3 separate regions of the Homo sapiens genome follow, and regions 2 and 3 are each linked to region 1. The links are contacts of gene promoters, found by promoter capture Hi-C in human tissues and cell types (Jung and others, 2019). All regions are on one chromosome and are shown on one strand. Each heading gives the region's core, a stretch centred on a gene start or on the middle of the fragment in contact. The rest is flanking DNA. Distances are from core to core; before and after follow the strand shown. Region 1 holds the start of PRKG2 (protein kinase cGMP-dependent 2). Region 2 has its middle 120 kb from the start of RASGEF1B. Region 3 has its middle 30 kb from the start of BMP3.

The links. Contacts are between HindIII fragments. The study calls those that stand out against the background at their distance.
Region 2: a fragment that was not itself captured here is called in contact with the fragment with the promoter of PRKG2 in region 1 in 1 of the 25 tissues and cell types used here (IMR-90 fibroblasts).
Region 3: a contact is called between a fragment that was not itself captured here and the fragment with the promoter of PRKG2 in region 1, in 1 of the 25 tissues and cell types used here (H1 embryonic stem cells).

Annotation. Positions count from the first base shown.
Region 1 is chr4:81,213,584-81,217,372 of GRCh38, forward strand. It overlaps PRKG2 (protein kinase cGMP-dependent 2), which reads right to left and starts at 1,639. Exons shown (of 19, transcript NM_006259.3): 1 at 1,353-1,639. It overlaps LOC124900726 (a long non-coding RNA gene), which reads left to right and starts at 1,303. Exons shown (of 2, transcript XR_007058162.1): 1 at 1,303-1,375; 2 at 1,982-2,641. RefSeq lists enhancers at 671-1,171, 1,172-1,672. The HindIII fragment of the contact is 9,769 bases long and covers 1-3,789 here.
Region 2 is chr4:81,354,415-81,358,151 of GRCh38, forward strand. No RefSeq gene overlaps it. Among named protein-coding and RNA genes, the nearest start is that of RASGEF1B, 120 kb to the right of the region's middle. The HindIII fragment of the contact is 4,669 bases long and covers 1-3,737 here.
Region 3 is chr4:81,058,504-81,062,704 of GRCh38, forward strand. No RefSeq gene overlaps it. Among named protein-coding and RNA genes, the nearest start is that of BMP3, 30 kb to the left of the region's middle. The HindIII fragment of the contact is 3,739 bases long and covers 419-4,157 here.

The DNA.
Region 1 (3,789 bases), core at 389-2,888:
TGCAAGACGATATCATGATTCATGTGAGGGATTTTTAAAATAATGAAAATTTGAAAATGTCTGTAGCTCCAGGATAATGAAGCACAGGAGATATGAAAAACGAAAACATGGGAGAAGAAGAGATAATTCATAGGAAAAATAGCCTAGAGGAAGCAAGACAATAAGGGATCACAGGACTTGGGCAACAGCCAGGCAACATATGCCTTCACTGTGAGGTGAATTCTCATTAGCCTCACTTGTAATGACTTCATAGAACTGGAGTTAAGGATTTCACGTAAAAGAGAAAGATCCCTGGGCATCATCTTTTCAGGTCGTTTATTCTTAGTCATACAGCGTTCCAACGGAGAGGATGCACTCTAATTCTCCATAGAGAATTCTCTACCATATTAGCTCATACCCTCCTGTGCAAAACTAAACAGGAGTACTGAAAACAGCTAGTGTATGTTATGTGGGATGATCGCCTTCTTCATGAGTTAAATAGAAACTTGCAAAGAAAAGAGACAATTTCTAAGAAACTCTAAATATGGGGGTGTGGTGGGGTGGGGGCAGGTGTATGTTGCTCTCTTCCTTAAAAAAAAAAAAAAAAAGAAGGAGAAGAAGAAGAAGGAAAAAGCCCCTGGGAACTTGGGGAACAAGATGAAGATCAGGAAATCAAGGCATTTGTCCCAGCGTCACCCTTCCTACCTACTAATTCTGCATGCGTTGCTTTTATTGTCAGCTCTGGCCTCAGCTGCTTCGTAGTTGCACCGTAGTTCTTCTCAGAACTGAACCTATTTCTTTTTTTCTCATCCCCAAAGTGGCTGGTTTCTGGGCTTTGTTTGCTCTTGTTTCTTCATCACCGAGAAATACAGAAATATGAAAGCGCCTCACGGTGCCCAGAGTGACAAAAGGACACCCACACAAGTTTACCAGGACTCCTAAAAGTCCTTGCCTGAGGACTGTCCCCTAGCAACTACCCAGAGCTCGACGAAGCAAAGCCGGGAGCGCAAGCCCTGACAGCACCGCCAAGCCCCTAGCTCGGAGCAACAGCCTCCACCGCTTCTCCTCGCTAAACCTAGAGAACCCTGAGGACTCCCCACTGGGGCTGAGCCCCTCCCGCCCTCAACAGAACCTCTAAACACAAGTAGCCTTTCCCTGCCTCCAGGAGCTCACGAAACGCTGCCACACCGAGCGAATGCAACGCGTACACACGTCCACACTCGAACAGCACAAGCAAGAGACCGGCTGGGTGTGGAATAGAGGCGCACATCGCGCAACGCATTCACAGCATGCACACGCGCGCACCCCGACCCCGTCCCTCCCCGCGCGCCCTCACACCCCGGCGCCCAAGACCCCCGGCCCACGAACCTCACCAGACAGCCGGGTAACTTTCCAGGTGCGCAGCTTGTCACCTCGGCGCGGCCGCCCCTGCGTCTCAGCGTCCTCTCCCACGCCGCCCTCCCCAGCCGCCTGCGGCGCCGGAGCCCAGCGCAGGTCAGCTCAGCCAGCCCCGCCGTGCACACGGTGCGCAGCGTGGGCCCGGGGCTGCCGGCTCAGTCGCTCCGGCTACGTGTGAGCCGGGGGCGCGGGTTAGCGCGATGCGGGCAGGAGCTGCGGCGGCGTCGGTGCTGCCGCCTGGCTCCGCGGCGGGGGCCGGTGCAGAGGAGACACGCAGGGAGGGAGGGAAGAGAGGAGGGAAGGAGGAGGGAGGGGGTCAGCCGGGGCTACTGCCTGGATAGTTGGGCGCCGGCTTCCCTAAAGGTGGGGTCACCCGCGCCCGCACGCACACTAGCCCGAACCTTTACTCCCGACACAGCCGCAGTCTGCACTTTATACCCCATACCCTCCATAGTGAGGCAACTTAAGTAGGGCGATAACATCGTGGTTGTAAGCATTTTTGTTCATGTTATTATTTCTATTTCAAGTGTGTGGGACGAGGGGAGAGGAAAGTTCAGGGAGGTGTTCATTTTTTCCTTCCCCTCCCTTTCCTCCATCCTTCCAGTCTGTTTTCACTGCAGGCTCTCTCCACTTCGCCTTCCCTCCCAGAGCTCAAACAGGCGCACGTACCCTGGACATGCCCTCCTCTGTCACACCAATGCCTTTCTACGAAGACATGTGACCCCGAAGCAGCTCGTCGACGCGCCCCTCCCGGACTCTGGGGCCATAACTTACATCTAGTTTGCCAGTTCACGTGATGCTGGGGGCAGGGGTTGAATCGAGTTTCGAGGGACAGAGATTATACCTTCCGAATCTGCAGGTCTTTGGGAAGGGAGCTTTCTTGATCACCCAAGAAGATAATGCTCTCTCGTCACCTTTTGAGTACATTTTTTTTTCCTGAAGGGTGCAATATGGTTTCCTAAATATATATGTACACCCCACCGCATTATTTGCTGTGCTCTGGAGTTGTGAGATCTCCATGTGGCTTTTTCCCTTTCCTTCTGCCCCCAGAGGAATTTCACCAGCAAATTCACGGAGGACAAGGGCAGTTTCTGTGTTGAGAGATGGAAAGTATAGTGAGGGTCTATTCCTCACTGTGCATCTAGAGAATGTTACAACCAACTCTCTTGGGTTTTTAAACCACATGGTGGCAGTGGGGCTCATGTAACATTTGTATACACTGTTACATACATAAACTTATATTAAAAATGAGGCCCATGTAAAATATGTTGAATGAGACCATTAAGTTTCAGAGGAGGAGGAATATAGTCCTGTTTGTTTTTGTGCTAACTGGAGGAAAATCGCGAAAGTACACAAAGTACCTTTTCATGAAGCTATCCCAGAGTCTGTACATTTTATAAAGACCTCAAAAAAAAAAAAATTAGAGGAGAAAGGAGTGAGGAAGAATTCCACAAGAAAAGAGAAAATAAGTAATTGTATGTCACTGTAATAATGGACTTTTAAGTTGATGGGCTGAATTTTTATTAGCGATTTAATGACAAAAAGGAGAAAAACAGATTTTCAAAGTCTTCACTTTAAAAAAAAATTTCAGATTCAGGGGTACAAGTGCAGTCGCATTACACGGACATAACACATAGTGGTGAGGTCTGGGCTTTTAGCGCACCTATTACCCTAATAATGTGCACTGTACCTAATAAGTTGTAATTCCTACCTCACCCACCTCCCACCCTCCCACCTATTGGAGTCCCCAGTGTCTGTTATTCCATTCTGGATACTCATGCCTGCCCATTGTTTAGCTGCCACTTATAAGAGATTCTGCAGTTTTTGACTTTGTTTCTGAGTAATTTCACTTAGGATAATGGCCTCTAGTTCCATCCATGTTGCTGCAAAAGATATGATTTCATTGTTTTTGTGGCTGGGTAGTATTCCATTGTGTGTGTGTGTGTGTGTGTGTGTGTGTGTGTGTGTGTGTAGTACCCCTGAATCAAAAAAAAATTTTCCCAGTTTTTCAGGTGATAGGTACACAGTGTATGTGTGTGTATACCACCATAGTGTGTGTGTATATATTTTGTATATATATATATATATATATATGTGTATATATATAATATAAAACCACATTTATAAATCCAATCACCCCTTAATGGACACGTAGGTTGACTCCATGATTTTGCTATTGTGAATAATGCTGCAAAGTCCTTACATTTCATTGAGTCCTGGGCTTTTTTAAACAATGGGTTGCTAATTAATGGATTATAAAATTGATGTACTGGGTCAAAGCCAGCATTTTTAAAATGATACCAAATAGAATAAAAAATAGCAGAGTATGCACGCACACTGGGTCAACTGGGTCATATGTACTTTCTTACCGTTCATTGAGGTAAAAGCTTGAAAGCTGTCGATGCAGTGCAG
Region 2 (3,737 bases), core at 274-2,773, 140 kb after region 1:
CTATTCTTGGGGCCAAGAATCAAAGGTTAGCATTTGACACATTTGAAAATTTTGTAAAATTTCTCTTACTAGGCTAGGCCCACTTAAAGAGATAGAAAACAGTTTGATAAAAAGCTTCATTTAATTATTGAATTTATAATATTTAACTTTTTATACTTGTTGGATTCAGATTGTGAATAATCAAAAAATATATTTAGCAACTTCAGAGATGTTATCAGTTTTAAAAGGACACACATGACATAGACACTTAAATGTACCACATTCATTTTAGTGTCCAGACTATTTCTAGCTCCACTTGTTCCTAAAGACATAGACTCATCTGAGGAATCATGAGGAGGAATAGCACAGGTTGTGAATAGTCATAAAATCATCAGTCTGCAGCTGACCTTTAGGAACTCACCTAACAACTGTGAATTAATGTACATTTTTAAAAGAATCCATTGGGTTAATACACTTTAAAAAGAAATTCAGCCACAAAAATACAAGATGTCTTTGTGTTAATTCAGCAGAAAAGTATCTGGGTATCATTGAAAGAGAGCCATTAGCTGCATATGGGACACATAAATGTATGCATAATAGTGATTCATAATTGCAATTATAAGTCATAATTATGTCTTGCATTATTATGTGTTTTTATTCTGTTGCATGAGTACTTCCATTAAGTAATCAAAGCAAAGAAACCAGTGAGAACATTTTAAAACATTTCACTGGGCGCCTGAATTTTTTTCATTCATAACAGTTATGAGGAGCACTAAAGATGGAATACATTTTAAAATTTCCCCTTCGTATCCACAAATCACTCAGCATTATATAAGAATCCTCTAGGTTTGAAACCTATGGCTTTATGTCCCACAGAAGGTTATTTTTTTTTCCCTTAGTCAGTAAGCTAATCCCTTTCTGCTGCACCAGCTGGAGTCCTGGTGGGGATTAGAACACAGTGTAAGGTAATGCTTGGTTGGTGAATGGGGAATAGGTCTAGCTTCAGTGTCAGAAATTATGTCCAGGCAGAGAGATGGCTGTTTTGAGATGAACAACACTTAGATATCTTTTCTCTTTTTTTTTTTTGAAAAAAAAAAAACAATTTTTATCATAACATGTTTGGGAAGTGGTTAAATCGAAATATGCCATATATAAGTGTCCCAAGTCCCACCCCCTTACAGCCAATAAACAATGCAATGCTTTGGATAATACCAGTGAGCCACTGGGGTTTATAGTCAGAGTTAAGTGACCTGAGAATTCATGTCCTCCCCTGTGTAGATTCCTACACCTGTCTTTTGCCCCAGCACCAGCTCTGAAGCATTACAGAGTTTGTGTAGATTTCCTGTTGATGTCTGAAGGCTATCCTTGGAATCTAGATCAAATCAGGTCTTCTACGATTACTCTGGATGTATGTAGAGCTCAGTGCCAAAAGGAATAAAAACTTTGGGAACCCTTAGGACAGGTAAATAAGCCAGCTCTCAGTAGACATCATAAGATGATTAAAAATGCCTGGCCTCATCCTTTTCCCAAGTTACCTCTCTCCTGTAACCTCTCTCACTCTCACACATATCCCTGAGGGGCCAGAAATAATGTAGGCTCTAAAAAGACCTCTCCAATAGGATTTCAGGATTAAATAGTGGCTTACTTTGCTTATCTAGACTATAGTCTCTCCCATATAAGTGGTTTAAGGTTGTTCACATAGAAATTAATAATCTGAGCTGAAAAAAAAGGGAAGGAAAGGGTGGAGGAGACAGGAGAGAAGAGGGGAGAGAAAAACAAGGAAGGAAAGAAAGACGGAAAGAAAGGCAGGAAGGGAATGGGAGGAAAGGAAAGGAGGGGGGCACAGCCAACTATTCAACTCCAAGTGACTTGCTGCATTTCATGATAGAAGGTTTCAATTTTGCTGACTTATTTCTTGTTGAGAAGACATGTTTATTAATCCTGCAGTTTACATATGCCATGAGTCTTTGAGTCTCTACTTTTTATTTAAGAACACTTTGGCATGGATCACCCTGGATTTCTGTCTTATAGTCATAGATCTCATTCTAAGGCTTAGCTTTGAGGTAAAGGAGCTGTTGCAGCCCTATTCATCACTTATAAATTTGAAACCTGTGGGCTCTTCCTGACTTTCGCCCTGAGAAGTTTATCACTTCGAACCCTCAAAATTGTGACCTCCTTCACTTACATTTTGCCTGATTGTTCTCGGAGCTTTATCAGATAGCAAAATGCCAAATAATGTGCTCTACCTTTCTAGAAAATACCAGTAAATGGCATGACTGGTGGCCAATAAATATATGAAAAAATGCTCAACATCACTAATCATCAGAGAAATGCAAATCAAAACCACAATGAGATACCATATCACACCAGTCATAATGGCTATTAAAAAGTCCAAAATAACAGATGTTAGTGAGGTTGCGGAGAATGCTTATATCCTGCTAGGGGGGTTGCAAATCAGATCAGCCTCTGGGAAAAACAGTCTGAATATTTCTCAAAGAACTAAAAATAGAATTACTATTTGACTCAGCAATCCCATTACTGCATATATGCCCAAAGGAAAATAAATCATTCTACCAAAAAGATACCTGCTCTCACATTTTATTGCAGCACTATCACAGTAGCAAAGACGTGGAATCAACCCAGGTGCCCATCCACGGTGGATTGGATAAAGAAAATGTGGTACCTATGCACGACGGAATACTACGCAGCTGTAAAAATAGAATGAAATCCTGTCCCCTGTTTTTTGCAGCAACATGGATGCAGCAGAAGGCCATTATCCTAAGCAAATTAATGCAGAAACGGAAAACCAAATACCACATGTTCTTTATTGTAAGTGGGAGCTAAACACTGGGTACGCGCAGACATAAAGATGGGAACAATAGACACTGTGGACCCCACAACAGGAGAAGCAGGGAGGGAGGCATGGGTTGGAAAACTATAATACCTATTGGGTACTGTGTTCAGTATTTGGATGATGAGTTCAATTGAAGCTCAAACCCCAGCATCATGCAATACATCCATGTAACAAACCTGCACATGTACCCCCTGAATCTAAAATTTAAAAAAAAGAAAAAAGGAAATGGCATGATCTACAAAATACAACCTGACCTCTATAACTGTTTATTACATGGTCACATTGAAACTTCATTACAAGTAAGAAATATATTTTAAAGTATTCTATGTTTCTAAAAGAACTGAAGTTGTGCAACTGAGAGTAAACACAAAGATGTGAAATGCATTTTTCTACGTATATGTTTATTTCAATAAAAAGATTTTAAAGAAATATATGAAATAGAGTAAGCTGTGGCTATTTGAGTTCATTTCTGTTAAAAATATTATCCTTGTCTATTCAAATCTTTCCTAATTAAATCAAGTTCTATGAGTTCACATACCCCAGGTGTATAGTTTAAAAGTATTTTCTTCACCTGCAATGAGGATGACCATTATGGGGAAGTACTGGGGTTACAATTTGTATTCTGTTCTTGTAAAATCCATTGCACTGAAAACTCTAGAGAATCAAATCTATAATTTATTCTCATAACAGGTAGCACCTGCTAAATGGAAGCACCACAGTTCCCATTCATGGCTCCTTCCTGGATTTTGCCACAGACAAGGACCTAGGGAACTAAGGAATCTTGATTTGTAGCATATAAACATATGATTTAATCATAATAAAGAAAGGAACTTTCACCTACATGTAAAAGTCAGAAATGGTTATAGGGTTTCCCAGAGACATTTTCCATGAAGCTATATATTCA
Region 3 (4,201 bases), core at 1,038-3,537, 150 kb before region 1:
GGCATGTGGAAACGTTGTAAAAGCTAGTTGTGAAGAGAGAAGAATAAATTGGCCAGGGATAGAGCATTGGGCCTTGCATAGTAAAAAGAGTGGCTGCTCTGTTTCCTGATGATATTTTAGTTCCTGTATCTTTTTCTCATAAATCGAACTTTGTGTCCTTGGTTTGCACTGGCTATCCCTGAAAACTCAACAATTACTCACTTGTACTTATGCTGGTTTAAGCCAATATCTGTAACTTGCAACCAAACAGTATTGACTATGATATACTGGAGTAAGTATGCCCAATTGCATAAGACTAGCAACTGGAAAAACTGGTATTAGAATTCTTTGTAACATTATGGAGAGAGCATCTTCCTTGAGATAATACCACCTTGAGTTTGAATTCTGGTTCTTTCAGTTAGTAGCAGAGTGATGTATGCCTTTGAGGAATATTGATGGAATCATCATACTTTCAGGGTAGCCAGTTTTGTGACTAATGAATACTTTCAAAAGAGTTGCCTCAGTTCTCATGCCAGAGGATTGTCTTGAAATACCACTTAGAATTGATCTTTGTAGCTATTAGAAGGTATGGTGGGAATTAAGGTTAAGAATAAGAACGTTGAGCACACATCCACTTAGTATTACCAAGGATTGCTCACATCATACAAAACTCTATTTTAGTGGGTAGAGATGTGCTTGATGATATAAAGCATTAATGCCTACATTGTCTGCAGTCTCAGAACTGGAAGTTAGCTATATGTAACTATTAACAAGTGAATATCAACCAGTAAAATGAAAATATATTCACATAGGAAAAGCACAATGTTACAGAGTTATATATATTTACATCCACAACATACAAAATGTGAGAACCCCGTGAGCCTTCCCTTCATACTCTTTTGTTCACAAAAAGTGGATGTTCTCACAATATGATATTTAAATTTTAATTTGGGTTATATTTGTTTTTTTCAATTGCATTTGAAGCAACATCAGAATCTATGGCAATGCTAAGCTCTGGGCTTGAGCACTTTCCTAAGTTCCTTCACCTCTTACATGTCCTAATTTTCTCCAGGTGGTGGTTAAAAATTCCTTTTTGCTCTAGTATACCAGAATCCATGAGTCAAACATCCATATTAAATCACAACTTATAAATATTTTTCTCCTGATCATGTCTTGGGAAAAAAAGCAACAACAAAAGTCACGATGGAAGGGAAAGAGAGAACACAAGAAAGGACCAGGGTAATAGATCATCCGTCCCTCAACTTAGGAGATTGTTGATTCTATCTCACTTCTATCATGTGATGGGGTTTGTGAGACTCTTCTACTTTTCATACCTACATTTTATTTACAGCATTCTTCCTCTTACTTTAATAATAAAAAGTAGGTGATATTATTTGTCTTACTATATTTTAACAAATAACTAAGGCATCTAATACCTTAACGAAAAACAAAGCCAAATGAATTGTAGAAAATAGACTAAAATATTATATATGTGTATTTCTGGTATATGAAAGTTTATTTTTATGCATATTGTATTTCATAGATACAGGCTTACAGGCAGACAATTTACGTTAGAATCTCAACTCTGTCACTTACTGTAGGACCTTGGACAAGTTATTAAGCTTCTTTCTGTTTCCATGTCCTCATGTGTAAAATGAGAACAAAACACAGAGCCTGCCTTACAGGGCTGTGAAAATTACTTGAGCCTTTATACATGAAACACTTATAAATGTTCATAGCACAAAGTAAATATTCTTCGAAATTTGCTTTTTGATTTTTTTAAATGCATTTTATACACTTCCATGAATGAGTCCTCATTTGACCCTGAGAAGTATTGGTGCGTATTATCCTCACTTTACTGACCCAGGAGAATAACTGACACACCTTAGGTCAGAACCATGCTAGTAGCATCAGGGCTGGGATTCCAGCAGCGATAATCTCACCCCAATTGTCCTATTCTTTTGCACTTCACCTCAGTTGCCTCTACTTAAAGAAAGCTGCCAGAGTAATTTCACCCATCTTTCCTTGGAGTCCTGAGAAATTTGAGGAAAATAGACTATCGCATCATAAAGAAAGCAAAAAAAAGTTTTAATAATGGGGTAATGTTTGATTAGTGTTGGGATCTGAGAACTTTCCCCTGAGTTGAACTTCCCCACCCAATTTCAGGTCAACCCGGGTGGTACAGAGATGGTCTCAGTGAGTTGAATTTTTGGAAAATGGAAAAATGTGCATTTTGAGTAAATAAATTCTGAAAAAGGGAAAGTCAAAGTGAGGCTGAACTGTGTACTCTCAGTTCCCATTTCTTCTCATCGTCAATCAGATATGTCTCTCCCCTTAAAGAGAAAGGATAGGGACAAGAGCAGAAAATATTACTTCAACACCGTTTCCACCCAGAGAGTACAAAGGAATTCCTGTTCCTGTCTAAGGAGAATAGAGGTAGTATACTAATAAGAGCCTCCCCTTCATCTCCACAATGCCACTAAACAGGAAATTCTGGCCTTCCCTACACGCCAAAAGAACAACAGCACAGGTGACTTAAACTTTAAATCTTAACATGGCCCCACTAAAAATATGAACCAATGGTCAAACCACCAGCTTTTACCCTGTCATCGGTAGGATCATTGCTCCTTCTCCCATGGGGAAGAGCCATGAGAGGAGGAAGAAAAAAACAAGAAGTATCTCCCAGCACTGTTTTCTCTTAGCCAGTGGGGTGGAAGTTGAGCGCCCTTTAGAGGAAAATGAGAAATGGGGTAAAAGTGACTTGCCTAACATATCTTGTGATATGAACTGTCTCTTATCTTTTTAAAATTAAAATAAACATAAGTTATGAAACTTAAGCAAACACTATATACAGTAATCATTTTAGGTAGTTGGGATTTGTTTTATTTTCATTTTTTGGTATGAATTTCCCTGCCTTGTGTACCATGCCTATTTTCTCTAGGTCCATCAGAGGATGTGGAAAGAAAATCCATCTTTGGTTTGCTTCAAGTCCAAGGCCATAGTTGTCTGAGTATTTGAGATACCTCCCATAGAGAAAGAGAACTCTATTTTGCAAGACAGTTGGAGGCTACTCTGTTGATAATTAACAAGGTCAGAATACCTGAGAAGCATTATTTTTACCCTGCCTGCTCAATTTTAGTTGGTGGCAACTTGATTTGAGTTTATTCCTCATTTCTTTTTGTTTCATCAAAATACTGCCTTGAGGGCAATAAAAAAAATCCAATCCCAGAAAATGTTAAATCAGAGAGTAGCAGGTGTTTTCTTCCCCTTATTCCCTTGATCCCAGCCCTATACTCAGACACACACACCGCATACACACACACATACACACACATGTCCTAGAAAAAGTTAAATCAGCGGGTAGCAGGTGTTTCTTCCTCATGTTCCCTTCATTCCAACCTGCTCACAACTGGGAACTGGGGATGGGGGAAGGAGGGAGGAAGAAAGGGAAAGAAACCGAGAGAGAAATGCCTAGCTCTACTAGAACATCACAGAAGCAGGGAGAGAAATATGGTCATGATCCAACCCTTTGCTCAAAATATTATGCTGAACCTTTTCAGATTCAGCACATAGGCAAACTACCACCAAGTTGCAATGAAAACCAACCCCCACTTCATGGGGGCTCAGGCCAGATGTGAATGCAGCAGTCCAGAGGTGAGGCAATTATGTGCAAGAATCATGTGAAAGAGCATTCCCCAAAACGAACTCACTTAAGGAAAACATTTGGTGTTTACAGGACTTCAGCCCTGTTTTCTGGAGATTTTCCATCACTATAAACACTGACATATACACACATGAACATAAGTGGGTTTTTTAAAATGGGCCTAGAATATGTGATTTCACTAAATTATCTCATTTATTAGAAATGAAAAAATTAATGGTATAATATCAAAAATTTGGCAGCTGAAACAGTCACATAGACAAATACTGAATGGAAGCCAGTGCCCATAGGCTGGTGATAATACATGGAAGCTTGGAACTGTTAGTAATCTTCAGATGATTTTGTAATGCAGAGGTAGATGACCTGCCTAGCTAGGGAGTGTGTGTGTCAAAACCGGCCCCTTGGAGCTCTGCTTTCTGCTTCATTTGATTTGAAAGCCACCTTCTAACACATCCAAGGAATAGCAGCATATTATAAAGAGAGGCTTCAGGTGTGATAGGATAGGCTGAGAGCATTTCAAAGTCCCTTTGCTTCTAATGTCATCAGCAGTTCCCATTTCTT